2 separate regions of the Homo sapiens genome follow, and region 2 is linked to region 1. The links are contacts of gene promoters, found by promoter capture Hi-C in blood cells and fetal thymus (Javierre and others, 2016). All regions are on one chromosome and are shown on one strand. The core of a region is centred on a gene start or on the middle of the fragment in contact, and the rest is flanking DNA. Distances in the headings are between cores, read along the strand shown.

Region 1 (7,192 bases), core at 3,004-5,503:
AAGGTTCGCTTGAGCCCAAGAGTACAAGGCCAGCCCGGGCAATATACTGAGACCCCCATCTCTATTTTAAAAAACTGCACTGAAACACATATCAACACACTCAACTACAGAAATATGCAGTACCTTAAAACTACAGGAAGCTACCATTAGAATCAGTGACTCCTCAAATCAGATAATCAGACACATTTCTACTATCCAGCTAAACTCCTTAGAAAGGAGAAACACTTTAAAGTAAAACTATGGCCCACAAAACAGCTTAAAGTAGGAAGTACAAGCATGTTTTCAACAACTCTAACTCACAAAATAGTTTTAAAAAGTTAAAGCTTTAAAAGTCTTAATTTATTTAAGAATATATTTCCAAAAGATCTGCAGTGCCCAGTCAATAAAAGGAAGGAGAAAAGAAATGACTGATGCTTACACATTCAGTAAAAATATATCCATTTAAATCAATAAACAACTCATGGCTTTGTATAAAGTGGAATCTTTATTATCTTTTTTGGATCCATGATTCTCCTTCCTCCCCAGCAGCAAAGGCAATTATGATAAAAGATGTTCTGAAAATTTTTTTGCCATCTCTGCCAATTTATAACCCATGACTTTCCTTGTTTCAAAATTTGTAAAGTCCACTTTCTCCAAGTCTTTCCCATTATGCTTCTATTTTCCAAATTCGCTATTTTTAATCTCATTTTCCTAGTTAATCATACAGAAAATTCCCAATTACCTTTTCAAATGAATAGAAGTCACAGTATCAGTAATTCCGAAACCATTTCTGTTTGACTTAAAATGCATTTGATTTTGTGGACAATGGACTAAAATCCCTTTTTCATTTAGGGTAAATGTGAATTAAGTTTATAACCCTTTAACATTCACTAACTGATCATTCAAGGAATGGGCCTTGTGATTGTGACTGTGGTAGCAGTACAGTAACAGATAGCAACTTGGTTTGGCTACAAATATATATCAAAAGTACTAGTATTCAAATAGTTAAAAGCTTGCTGCAGCTGCATACATTTCGTTTAGATATATATACTTTCAAAGTCTATTCTCATTATCCTTGCCGGTGGAGGGGAACAAGGTCTTGAACAAAAGAGTACTGTTTCAAAATAATTCTCATTTCCTTTCAAGTGTGCAGATATTCACAATATACTGGCTGTAAATTCAATCTAAATGAAGAAGTGCTGTTAAGTTACTGCTGAGGCCTGGGAAAGTGACCAATGTCCAATACTAACCTTCTTTGAAACCATCCCAGGAGAGTTTGTATTAAAGTCATCGTTGACAAAATTCAGACTGTATCCAAACAGTACACTCACAAAGCAAAATAACTTCTAAAAGCATATAACTACTATTAACGGACTTTAAAATGCTAATCATTTCATTGGAAGTGATTTTCCTGAGAATAAGATATATTTTTCTGTTATCTTTATTTTTTAACATTTTTGTCCTTTTTCCCAACAAGATGCTGTCAACTTGTGACATTTGTTTATTATCCTTAGCAGATTTTCCATGTGCAATTCAGAGAGGCTAACTTGCCCAAACACACAGCTTAAAGTTAGACCTCAATCAGAGGCAGTTGGTTTCAGAAGCCAGGCTCTGAACCACATTAATATATCTGAAAAAAAACATGATTTCTCATGCAACTTCTATGATTACAACAACAACAACAACAATTCTGAGTAATGAGCTAGGTCCTATTACCAAGTAACACATCCTTTCCTTGCCTATCTCCCAGCCCAGGGATATTCCAGCTATGGAGTTTGGTGATCTGATTGTTTTCCATGTTCCTAACCGTCAAATCCTGATGTGATATTGGATTCAGACTAGAAATTATGAAGCAGGCACACAAAGCACCTTTATATATACCTCAATAACTTTTCCCCCAGAAACAAAGATATTTCTTGGCTGTTTCACTGAAACCTGAGGTTCTGTAGTTAGCTCATAGGGAAAAGTCAGTCACTATTAGAGTAGGTTGTTATCATCACCTTCTGTTCTTTTAACAATTGTCAAGTACTTTTCACATTTATCAATGTGTTCTTATCACATTCATTAACTGCTTCATACCAATATTTTTAAAATATTACTTGCTTATCCATGTATTTGAAGCTAAAACAATGATCACAATCAGATCTCTAGACAATGGTTGTAATGAATTTGTTCAAGAAAAGCATTCAAATTTGATGGAAAACTGAGCCTTTATAATTCATTCTAATTCTTCAACACAAAAATGAACTTTGGTAAATCAATAGGATCAACTGAGGCATTTATGCTTGAATGTGCTCCCCTAAGCTTAATGTATTTTTCCTCACTGCATTATATTTTAATGATTAATTTCATGCTCTTTCATGGTATTCTAGCTCATGAATCACGGGTATTACTTTGAGGGAAAAGTAAGGTGCTGTGAGTGATGAAAGATGTTACTGATTAAAGTGTTGCACATATGAACTACATAAGAGCTGAAGGTGTTTGAACACCAGCAATCTAGATTAAAAGTAATATTAGGCAAACTGGCCATATAGACTAAGGTTGAATTGAGTGGAGGGAGTGGGAAGGATGGGCTTCTTAAATGTTCTTAGTTGAAACAATATATGAAATCAAGCTTGGCATTCAATGTTTCACTGGCATCTTTCTCCTCAGTAGAATGTAAGAACTGATTTCGAAGACAACTGCAGAGAAAGAAATCAGTTAAGCAGATAACACACCATTCTGAAATTAAAGAGCCAAAAGCCACCCATCCTAAGTCAACTCCGATATCTTAAATCAATACTGCCTTAATACTGTCAGAAGCTTGTTTTTCGACTTAGTAAATAAAATTTTTTAAAAAGTTAAGTCAAAGTCACAAGGACCAAAAAGGAATAGACTACCCTAAATGAAATATAGAAAAAGACAAGTATCTATTATCCTGCACACAGATGAACAACTATTTGTTAAATATATCATATTGCTCAATATCAAAAAGTCAACTCTCCAAAACAGAAACCAAAAGTAAACTAACCAGAGATGTCCACATAATACACTTTGGCTCTTGTTACTAAAATGATTTTTCAAACCAAGTTATGGAGCCTGGAGAAAACAGGACTACTTCCTCCCAGAATATAAAGTTTCTTCAATTACGGAGGCAAAATGTGGCAAAAGCAGCTATTTTGCAAACAGGTGGTTTGCAAAACTTTTACTTAAGCCGCCAAAAGGACTGACGAAAGGAAAATTTTGTTATTTCTAAAGAAAACACACACACACATAATTTTCTACCAGAGTAGAAGACTCAAATAAAGAAAAGCCCCAAACAAAACAGAAAACTAAAAATCAGTTTGTCTTAGCTCAAAAGTGCTGACCTAGGTTTAGTATGTGTAAAATCACTGTTGATAATTAAATCCTTTTCATCGCATATATTAAGATACTAGAGAGAAAGGAAATGCCATGTCGTTTCAGGTAGGACCTTATTTACATAAAAAAAGATTTTTTTTAACAGAAACGGAGTGCAAGAGGGAATCAAAAACCGTTGAGAGGAGAGAAAAATACAGTTAGTTTTTCTGAGGGCACTGCATTTTTCATGTTCTGAATACTTCGTTCCATTCTCTCCATGTTAAATTATTTCATAAACAATACTATGACTAGAGGCGACTGCTACAGCTGACACACAGATGTTTTATTTCTATGCTTCACCTTTGCAAATAGCAGGATTCAGCTATTGGAAATGGGGGCAGTGGAGGTGTCCAGAAACGACATACAGGAGGTGAAGGGGTAGAACGTGTGGGAAATGGGCACTCCTACCCCCTAGAGTCCACCTCTCTGGAACTCCAGTGCTTCTTCAGTCACTGACATTCAGAGGAGGACAAGACAGGCTTCCTGAAATCTCTTCCGAAGTAAACAGGTCCCGACGCAAAGGGCAACCCCTCCAGTAGCGGAAAGTCCTCCCCTGAGCTCCCCGCCTGCCCACGCGGGCCTGTGGCTCCGCGCTCCTCCGCTCCCCCGCAGAGCTCCCACGGGGGAAACTTTCCCGCGTCTCTCACTCTCCGGGGTGCGGGGGCCGCGGGGGCCTCCCCGGCACCTACCCGCAGAGCACTCCCCACCACCCCGCCACCACCGACGAGCCGGCGCGAAGTCCGTACCTCGATGTCCGCCGAGTCCTTACTGAGCACAGGGGCCATGGCAGTGCCTACAGTCTCGAGTCTGCCAGTGACAAACCCTCCTTGCGTCCTCAAGCTCCAGCCAGAGAGCCAAGTGACAGCAGCCGGAGCGCGAGTCGAAAACAGGCAGACTAGGGCCGGCGGCGCGGGGGCGGAGCGGGCGCGGGGCGGCAACGCCCCCGGGGCGGGGCTGCGCTCTCGGTCCTGCGGCTCCCGCGCCAGGCACGGCAGCCGCAGCCCGGCCTTCCCAGTTCAGCCCGCTCCGCGCCCCAGCCTGCAAGCAGAAGGGAGGGAGGGAGTAGAGCACCCGCTCTGGGGACTGGCCTTTAATCTCTAAACTGCTAAAAACAGAGCTAGGCAGGCGGGGCCAGATAGGAGGGATCCCCAGGCAAAGGTAAAAGCAGTCCGCGCTCCAAGCAACAACTTGCACTTTTTCTTTTCTTCCACAGAAACCCCGCGAGATGTAGATACATTGTTTGAGGGGCAACTGCATTTTCAGGAACTCCTCAAGGATGAAATAGTAGATGTTCCTCCATCCATCCACCAAGTAGGTGGGCGGGGTTTGAGCTGCAGTGGAGGATACCAAAGCACCGGTCTTCTGAGAGTTCACAGCCCCAGCGGGGAGGGGAGGGAGGCGAGCAAAAACATCCACAGCCCGCAGCAGCATACAGGAAGTGCTGCAGGTGGTACATAATCAAGGTTGTCTTTTTGCAGGAAAGTCTCATTTTAATGGTTATTTTTTTAAATATTTTTTATTCTAAAACGTGAAACTCTTTTGAAAAGTTGCTCTTCGTTTTTGCTCTAGAGCTTGCTGAGGAGAAGGGAGAGATTTCCTGTAGAGTTGGTCCCAATCCAGAAAACATTCACCTCGTTTTTTGAGGATATGTGTACTCCAGACCTCTCTCCTTTTCTCCCCGCCCCCCCCCCACCCCTGTTAGATGCATCCCACCTCTCTTCTACCATAACACTTTCTACTTCCGTTAGGACATTTGCGGCACTCCTTCATGCACTTGGCTAGGTAGTGACACCTTGGAGTCAAGTATTTCTCCCTTATTATTTTTTCATTAGTCCATTCATCGTTTTATTCAACGAATATGTTTATTGAGCATTTTCAATATGCCAGACACAGACACTGTGCTAGGTTCTCCGGATATAGTCTTCAAGAATACACATCACTGTCATGGAGATTATACTCAAAATAAGCAAGTAAGAAAATGTGATGCCTGCTTGTAAGATAAAAGAAAAATAGGACAGAATAACTAGGGTATGGGTACCTTGCGTGGTTGAGAAGGCTTCTCTGAACAAACCATCAGATTACCTTCCAGAACCTGGAAATTACTAAAAGACAGATACATTTTTCTTGAATCAAATATTAACAGACACTAGAAAGTTAAATGGAAACCTTAGAATCATCTTTGACTCCTTTATCCTTATTGCCTCATTTAATCTATGCCCAAACTCTCAGAAGTCAACCTCCTAAATAGATTTTGAATCATTCATTTCTCCATTTTGCTGCATCCACCATGGTCCAAGCTACTGGTATTCTAGCTTCTATTCTTACCTCATATCCATACCAGATTGAGCTTTAGAAAGTATTAACTGGCTCATGCCATACAACGATACATCCACACACCCAGGTACCCATGGTATAAATCCTTCAATGGTCCATTGCAGTCAGAATATAATACAAACTCCCTAGTAACCGCTGAATAACCTGCTCTACTCCGCTTCTCCGCCACTCTTGCCCTGACTCATTATGTTCCAACCACAAGGTAATCTTCTCATCCTCCATCCACTTCTCTACCTTTGCACATTGCCCTCCACTTGGAGCTCTTCTTCCCCTTCTACTCATCATTTAGGTCTCACTGAAGCCTTTATGATCTAACCCCATCACCAACAAAATTACACCCACTCTGTCTTTTTCATTATATTTCGTCTTCATAGACTTTTCAAATGTTGTTTAAATATTTATTTGAATGTGATTCATTTAATATATGTCTTCTATTTAGAGAGGAAGCTCCAGGAAGAGGGGGCCCATGTGTACTTTTATTGTTTACTGGATACTCAGTTCCTAGCTCAGGACTGAAGCATAAGAGACCAAGAACACTTGGTGATTGAATGAACAGAGTACATTCGTTTATACACTGGGCAGTTCATTTTAGAAACTTTAGTTTCTCTGCATCACATATTCTCATTGTCCTACTTACTGCTGAGAAATAGGTCACAATATCTATCAATGAATTTGTAGTTAAAATGGGTCAAAATAACTACTTATCTTTTCATGGAGTAATGTTCCAAAGTCAGATGTTCCTGCATCTCCCTACAACCACACCTTACCCACTTACTCTAGATCCTCTTGGAGATATAGAGAGATAGATAAATCTATCTATATCTATTTTTCTATCAGTCTATATATATAAATACACATATAAACACCCAAATACATACATACATATACACACATATGTATATATTGAGAAAAGATATACACATATAAACATATATAAATTTACAAATATAATATATATAATTATAATACATATGATTTCTTCCCCAATTTAATCAGTCAGGTTCAATGTTCAATTTCCTAACTTACAGGGATACAGGCTTATTGCTCTTTCAGGTTACACTTTAACATACATCTTATCAGTTAGCAATTGATAGTTAATTTATGTGTACAAGAATCCAAGTTATCTTTAAGAGTTATACAGTGTATTTTCATATTCGTTTTCTGTTATAATTCTCCTAAACAACTATAGAGGATAAGTCCAATATACGGTGGTTTTCCAAAGATAAGAGTTTCATCGGTGATAGTCAATAATCAAATATAAAATTTAAATGCTATTTACCATCCCCCCCAACTTCATCAAACAGATGTATCCTGTTCTGACATATTAATTAAGGCATCTAATCACATTGCTCACGTGCCACACCTATGCTCTGTGATCAGTGATTTAATCTAATAATATTTTAAATTCATTGAAATTGCACATTAAGCACAGTTGTACCTGTAAATAATGCAAGCTGTTTAAAGCTTTTACTGCAAATGCATTTGCACCACACTTTTTAAA
Region 2 (7,192 bases), core at 1,774-4,273, 950 kb before region 1:
TACACAGGTAAACGTGTGCCATGGTGGCGAATAACCATGTTTTCATTACATCATAAGCCACAGTAGTAAGAAACACCTTTTTTTTTTTTTTTTTGATACAGAGTCTTGCTTTCTGGAGTGCAATGGCGCGATCTCGGCTCACTGCAACCTCCGCCTCCCGGGTTCAAGCGATTCTCCTGCCTCAGACTCCCGAGTAGCTGGGATTACAGGCGCCCGCCACTACGCCTGGCTAATAGTTGTACTTTTAGTAGAGACGGGGTTTCACCATGTTGGTCAGGCTGGTCTCGAACTCCTGACCTCAGGTGATCCGCCCGCCTCAGCCTCCCAAATTGCTGGGATTATAGGTGTGAGCCACCGTGCCCGGCTGAGAAACACTGCTTCTTATTTTTGTTGTTATCACAACATAATCTCTTTACTCCAGTGAACATTTCAGATTCCTCTAGCTTCAATGAAAATATCAATATCCAATTCAAAGCACTCTCTCAATGTCCAGGACGGGTCTTTTAAAACAAATCCACACAGCCCTTTCCATACTTCTGAATAAAATGAACTTTCCTGACTTTCCTCACATGCACACTTCTGCTCATTTCAGCAGGATTCCAAAGCAGAGAGACAGCATCCGGAATGCCTGAGATCTTCGGGTGAACGGAAGAGGTGCTTCAGAATGTTTAAGACCCTTGGCTCTGCTACTGCCGTACGAACTTCTTACGGAGGAGACCTGATCAAAGTCAAACAAACCTTGATTTTACAGGAACACTGCAACGTTTTTAAGTAGCCATATCTTTACATATTTAAATATTATTTAAGTAACCATCATAAACATATTCAAATAATTAGATTTATTTGAAAGTCTGCTGTATGTTGATCAGTATAATTCCTTGGAGAGTGACAAATATTTCAAATATATTGCCACAATATCATTGTAAAAGTTTAACTAAAGGAATTTGGCCCTTTTTATTACCCTGAACAAGAATGTGCAAAACAAAGATGCAATGGACTGTATATATCTTAACTGTTGCTGAGTAAACTTACCAATAAAAGCCAATAGCAATATCTCCAGATCATTGACAAGAAAGAGTTCCTTGCAATATCTTTATATATTAGCCTTATTGAATGATGGTTACATAAATATAAATTGTAAGAATGTTTTTATTGAAAGGAAAACTTACAGGGCATTTAAATTATATTTATATAATTTATATACATTTATATTTATAAATTTAAATTTATACAATTTATATACAAATTTTTAACTTTGGATGTTTGTGATTTTTCTGTCTCTTTTTCTTGGGGGGGAGTGGGGACCTAAACCCTATGGAGATGTATAATGATTTAAAAAAATAAAAACATGAATGTAAACTGTGTATCACTGAAATGACGTATTTTACTACAGAACTATACCTTCTATGGCTTCCACTAAAAATATAGGATACATTGGTCTATCGGTCAGAGTTTTGAATTTTTTTTTTCAATCATTGGTTTATAAATAGCATCCATCTTGCTTTCCATCACAATCATGCCTGAGTGAGTGTAGAAAAAGTTGCATTCAGGAATATGGTAAAATGTTACAGGAAGATTTATGCCATTTTGAATGGATTGTTTCAGGTTGCCTGAATTTTTAATACCCCTTTCTTGTCACAGAGAAGAGAACTTTGTTATTTTTGGCTTTCATTAGAGTTCTCACTTCAGAGTTGGTTAGTATGGGTTTCTGCTTTCCAAGCTGACATCTCTTTTCTATTTAGCATCTGTTACATAAACAGGGTGAATAGCTACACGGTTCCAAAATTGTGAGTGAAGCAGCTAACCCCCTTCTTCCTCACTAGCCAACATAACTGACAGCACTTAGCTCTCTCCATCCCTGCTGTCTTAGCTCTGAAGGGACTCCGTAGCACTGCCTGCCTGACTCCGCGCCACTGACGGCAGGCAGTGTTGTTGGGAAGAGAGCAAAGGCAGGGAGTCTGGTGGTGTGACGATGAAGATAATAAAGGAAATTATTAATGCGTCTACAGTATTTTTTGCATATTTATCTTACTGATCCTCACACCATCCCTCTGAGAAACATGTTATTATTATTACCTCACATTTTTAGTATTCTGTGTACATATTTTTAAGTTCTATGTACATATTTGTAAAAAAAATTTAAGTAAAGCAGGAGAGAAGAAATACTCTAGATAGGAGAATTTTTTTTTCCACTCTTTTGCAGACAGTGTTAAGGCAGGGGTTGGGCAAATCAAAATGCCTTAAACACAGAGGAAAATATTTATCTTACGCAACAAGAAGCTTAACATAGGCAGTCCAGGGCACAATGATGTCCTCAGTACTAAGCACTAGCTGTCATATTTCTGCTCTGCTGTCCTCATAGGGCACTGATTCATCCTCAGCTTGGGTGTTCATAGTCATAAGTTGGCTGCTGCTCTTCGGGGGTCGCAGTCACGTTGTCACATAACACAGGTTCTAGCACAGGCTCTTGAAGATAGCAAAGACCAAAGAAGTCTTGTGTGTCAAATTGAACTGCACCACCTCTGAGTTCCAGGGTTGGTTTAATTCTCTGGCTCCACATAGAAGCAAGATGGCTCTAGTCTTTCCTGCCACTCAGATGCAAGCACATCATAAAACAAATGAACAAACAAATCAAAAATTCCATGAGGCTCAGAGACTTTAAATAATTTGTTCCTGGATTTTGAGGCATGTATGGAATATGGTGCCCCTTGTTCTGTCTCCAAGTACGGTGCTCTGCCGTGAAAGGTGTTTGGGTTAAGAGAAGGCAGCTCTCTCAGGTATCTGCCGATTTGCACAGGCTTCTTTGTACACAATAGGCACTCAGCATCCACTGATTTGATTTTAGGCTTAAAAATGAAATTAAAATGGAGCTACCTTGGGCTGTTTGGCTTTGTTCTCTCTCTGGCATTTTCCTGTGTTAAGTTTAATTGCATTTGAACCAGACTCCACTGTTCTGGTTCAGGACAATGTCCAGAACCCAGACAGCTTTTTCTGATCTGTTTAACTCTCTGCTAACATCCACACAGATGGAGAAAATCAGAATCAGTGGACTCATTCTATTGTTTCAGGATCCTGGACCCCCTCTGTAATCAGCCAATTCATCTACCCTTTTTGAGCACCTCCACAGTACTACTCCATTCTAGCTGCTTCAAAGTATACAAGATGTAGTGCTTTTTGTCCATGTACTTACAGTGTATTTGGAGAAACATGTCAAGTACATGTGAACAATTTGCTAACTAACAATTTTAAGGTGCATTATATGCATCAGATAAATAAGCTCTATGGGAAGTCCAGTGCACAAATAGACATAAGATGTGGGCTGGCCCTTGGCAGATGAACCGGTCACAAGAAGCTCTACTCAAATTTTATGAACATGGGGTTTCTCAGATACCTGCCTGCTGCACCACCTGGTGAGAATGGAATTGAGGCAAACCTAGGGCCTGGAAAATTAGGGCAATTGCTTAGGGCTATGAACTCTATGCAGTGGGAGAGCGATTCAGAGAGTCAGTCTTGAGGGGCAAAGGAGGATTTCTATTTAGGTAGATTTAACTAAGACATAAAGTTTGAGGGATATTTTCAAACAAAGAATCAACCAGTATATGTACTCATTATGCCCAACACAGAGCCCCCCTCAGGCAACACAGCCCTCTTTGTGACTTAATTAATAAACCTGATTTTACTTGCCTATAAATCTTACCAGGAGTAGGGGGTCATTGGACTTGACAGCAAGAATTTTCTGTTTTGTTACTGTTTCTGCACAGCCTCTGAAGCTTGGATTAGAAAGAGAGGTGCCGATTTGGAAGTCAACAACACAGAGGTGGCTATTAACACCAGAAGAGTAGATGAGCCATGAAGGCAAGAAATTCCATACAGAGGGGAAGGCTAGAGATAGAACCTAGAGGATCGCCAACCACAGTTCCTCTTAACCACAGACATGACTGTGGTCTTTGATGCTTCATTTGTAGAGTAAGGACAATGATAGTATCTACCCCATAGAGCTATTTGAAGGTTTAGTGAGTTAATAAATGCAAAGCACTGGACAATTGCTTCATAGATAGACAACACTCAATACTGTTATCAAGATGAATCAAATTCTCACTCCCCCTCTCCCATTCTCCTCTCTCTGCACTTTTCTCCTGTGCCCATGAAACTGCCCTCCTGCCTGTAAACCTTCGCCGGATGTTTAGAACCCTCTGCCAAACATTTCTTGAGTGATGGGTGGACCTCCAGGCCTTTTTCTTTACTTTCCACAATCAAAATTTAACTGTTTCATTTTAAATTCCACCAACTCTACCATGGGTGTTAGCATTTTAACCAGACAATGCCTTCATGTGAAAGAATGTCTGTATTGCTGAGATTTTGGTCTCTAACAGTGATTTCTAGATACAGGGCTCTCTTTGTACACCCTCCTCAAAACACACTTGTAAGCAACCTCCTACTCGTGAGACCTCGAAAGTGGGAAAGGAGACAGCAGTAAGGACGATACAGAAATAGGCACAGAGAAACCAGCAGGTACCAAGGATGTCATCAAGCAATTTCCACAGAAAGCAAGCATGGATTAAAAGAGAGAAGCCAACAAATTTGTGGTCATTTGAAGCCTAAAGACACATTTTAAAACATTTCTTAATTTCTTTAAGTTTCTATCTTTTTTCCTCCTATGGAAGAAATCTACCCAATATAACATAAACCACTAATACTGTTCTCTAGGCAGAACATAGTTCCGTGAGCCAATGCAGGCTGGTTTCAGGGAAACTAACAACATTATTGATTTTAGTCAGGCTTATTAGAATCAGTGTTACATGCCCTTTTCCTCTACCAGATTGTATTTGGACTTCATTATGAAATCTCATTACATTAAGAGGAGGCTGCGATGAGTTCTGTAAATAAAAAATTTCCAAAGATGGATTTGTTAAAATTAGTATATCTGTGAAATCTGCTTTGGGTATCAATCTGTCAAGAAAGGGAATCATATATTTTCTGATTAGACCTTGCTTTTTAAAAAATATTGGGAATATTCACCAATTCTAGCAGCATACAGGAAAGCTTCCCTTGTTTTCCTGTTAGGAACTCCTGTGCAACATATTGTCACAGAACCTGGGTGAGACATCGCATCACATAATGATTACAGACAGCTTGAAGGGATGAACATGGCTTTTTCCTCTCCATGCAGCTCAGTAACACAATAGGCTCGTGAATCCCAAACTGAGAGCTATGAAAATGGAGTCAAGTCTGTAGCTGGCAATGCCTGGGATTTTTAGTGCAGGAATACGGAGGACTAAAAGAGATTCGAAACACCCAACCCTTCCATTTCTGCTTCAATATGTGGCGTATCATTTGGATTAGGCAACTTAAGTGAATTGATAAAATTGATGAAAATGAACTGATAGAGGAAATTACTTTTCCAAAACAAACAATTGCAATATGTACTTTTCTCTTAGACACTCACTCCTGTGTCTGTTTATTCAGTATCTGCACGCACAACCTTGTAAATACTGAAGAAAATGATGAAAACTGTTTAGTCAGACAGCTTAGTGCTTTCTCGTCCAAAATTATAACCACAAACTCAACACCAAACCAAGTAGTGTGGTTTCACTGAGAACTGAGAGAGCAGTTGTGGGATTTTCATTTAAGAGGCAGGGAATGATAAGGCATTAGAGTGAACAAGTGCTGTCGCAAACCTCTTCCCTGCATCTCTCTATCTGCTGCCCTGGTAGAACCCTGTATCCCCTTGATCCCAGAATGCTTCCCTCCCTCCCTCCCACCCAGGTGACATTTAAGACCTCTCTTGTTAGCCCAGTGCTGTGGCTTATGCCTGTAATCCCAGCACTTTGGGAGGCCGAGGCAGGTAGATCACCTCAGGTCAAGAGTTCGAGACCAGCCTGACCAACATGGCGAAACCCTGTCTCTATTAAAAATACAAAAAATTGGCTGGGTGTGGTGGTTCACACCTGTAATCCCAGAACTTTGGGAGGCTGAGACGGGTGGATTACCTGAGGTCAGGAGTTCAAGACCAGCCTGACTTACAAGGTGAAACCCCATCTCTACTTAAAAAAAAAAATAGCAAGAATTAACTGGGTATGGCAGTGGACGCCTGTAATCCCAGCTGCTCAGGAGGCTGAGGCAGGAGAATTGCTTTAACCCAGGAGGCAGAGGTTGCAGTGAGCCAAGATCGTGCCACTGCACTCCAGTGGGGGCAACAAAAGCAAAGCTCCATCTCAAAAAAAAAAAAAAAAAAAAAAGATCCAGGTGTGGTGGCAGGCGCCTGTAATCTCAGCTACTTGGGATGCTGAGGCAGGAGAATTGCTTGAACCCTGCAGAAGTTGCAGTAAGCTAATCACACCACTGCACTCCAGCCTGGGCAACAGAGTGAGGCTCTGTCTCAAACAAAAACAAAAACAAAACCAAACACAAACAAACAAAAAAACCTCTCTTGTTCAGGGCATTGTTACAATTTATTGGATTCATTCTGATAAGGGAGAAAGACCTAAGCATGGAGATACAGAGTAGAATATTACAGTGTGGGAGAGTCACACAGACAGGTTGGGAGAACTCTCAGGACTCAGATCTCCTGGTGCAGGGTAGGAGTTGCAGTGACAGGTTGATTTCTCCCATCTCTTCCGACATGGGTTTCCCCATGTGCCACTCCCTGTAGATTAGTAGTGGGGTCACGAATATACTCAAACCACACTAGCATGCTGGGACAATGTGTGTCTTTGTGTTCTGTAATTGATCTGAGTCTCCTTTATGAGCCCCCTCTCTCCTGAATACTTCAAGTTGCCAGTTAGCAAGATATCAGTCACCTCTGCTTTAACCAGTCTCACTTCAGCCTCTGGTTCATCCATCTGGCCTCTTCCCAGGGCTGCCTCTGTGCTACTGATCCTGCACCATGGGGAATTGGCTTGGTTCCAAAGGCTGAGGATGTCCTAGGGACCTGGAGTCTCAAATAGCATGCTGGCACTTGTCCCAGCATTCCTGAGTTCCCCGATGACTGTAAGTTTTAAGTTATCATCCCCTCTTGGGATATGACTCCATGACAGGAAGGGGGCAGAGAAGGAGAGTTGTCTGCATATCTAGATGCACTTGCACTCTCTACCTTTGCTTCTTTTCTTCCTGCTATGCCTCACTGCTGGAAATATTGGGCTTTTATTTTACTCATTCGTCCTATTTGATAGGGACTTTTCCTATATCCTGC

The links. Contacts are between HindIII fragments. The CHiCAGO score rates a contact against its expected background, and 5 or more counts as called.
Region 2: a contact is called between a fragment that was not itself captured here and the fragment with the promoter of DPYD in region 1, in 1 of 17 cell types (erythroblasts). The highest score is 6.4, in erythroblasts.

The regions. Positions count from the first base shown.
Region 1 is chr1:97,916,781-97,923,972 of GRCh38, forward strand. DPYD (dihydropyrimidine dehydrogenase) reads right to left here and starts at 4,254. Exons shown (of 23, transcript NM_000110.4): 1 at 4,104-4,254. The coding sequence starts at 4,142. RefSeq lists a silencer at 4,060-4,459. The HindIII fragment of the contact is 4,374 bases long and covers 2,780-7,153 here.
Region 2 is chr1:96,966,883-96,974,074 of GRCh38, forward strand. No RefSeq gene overlaps it. Among named protein-coding and RNA genes, the nearest start is that of DPYD-AS1, 130 kb to the right of the region's middle. The HindIII fragment of the contact is 1,490 bases long and covers 2,279-3,768 here.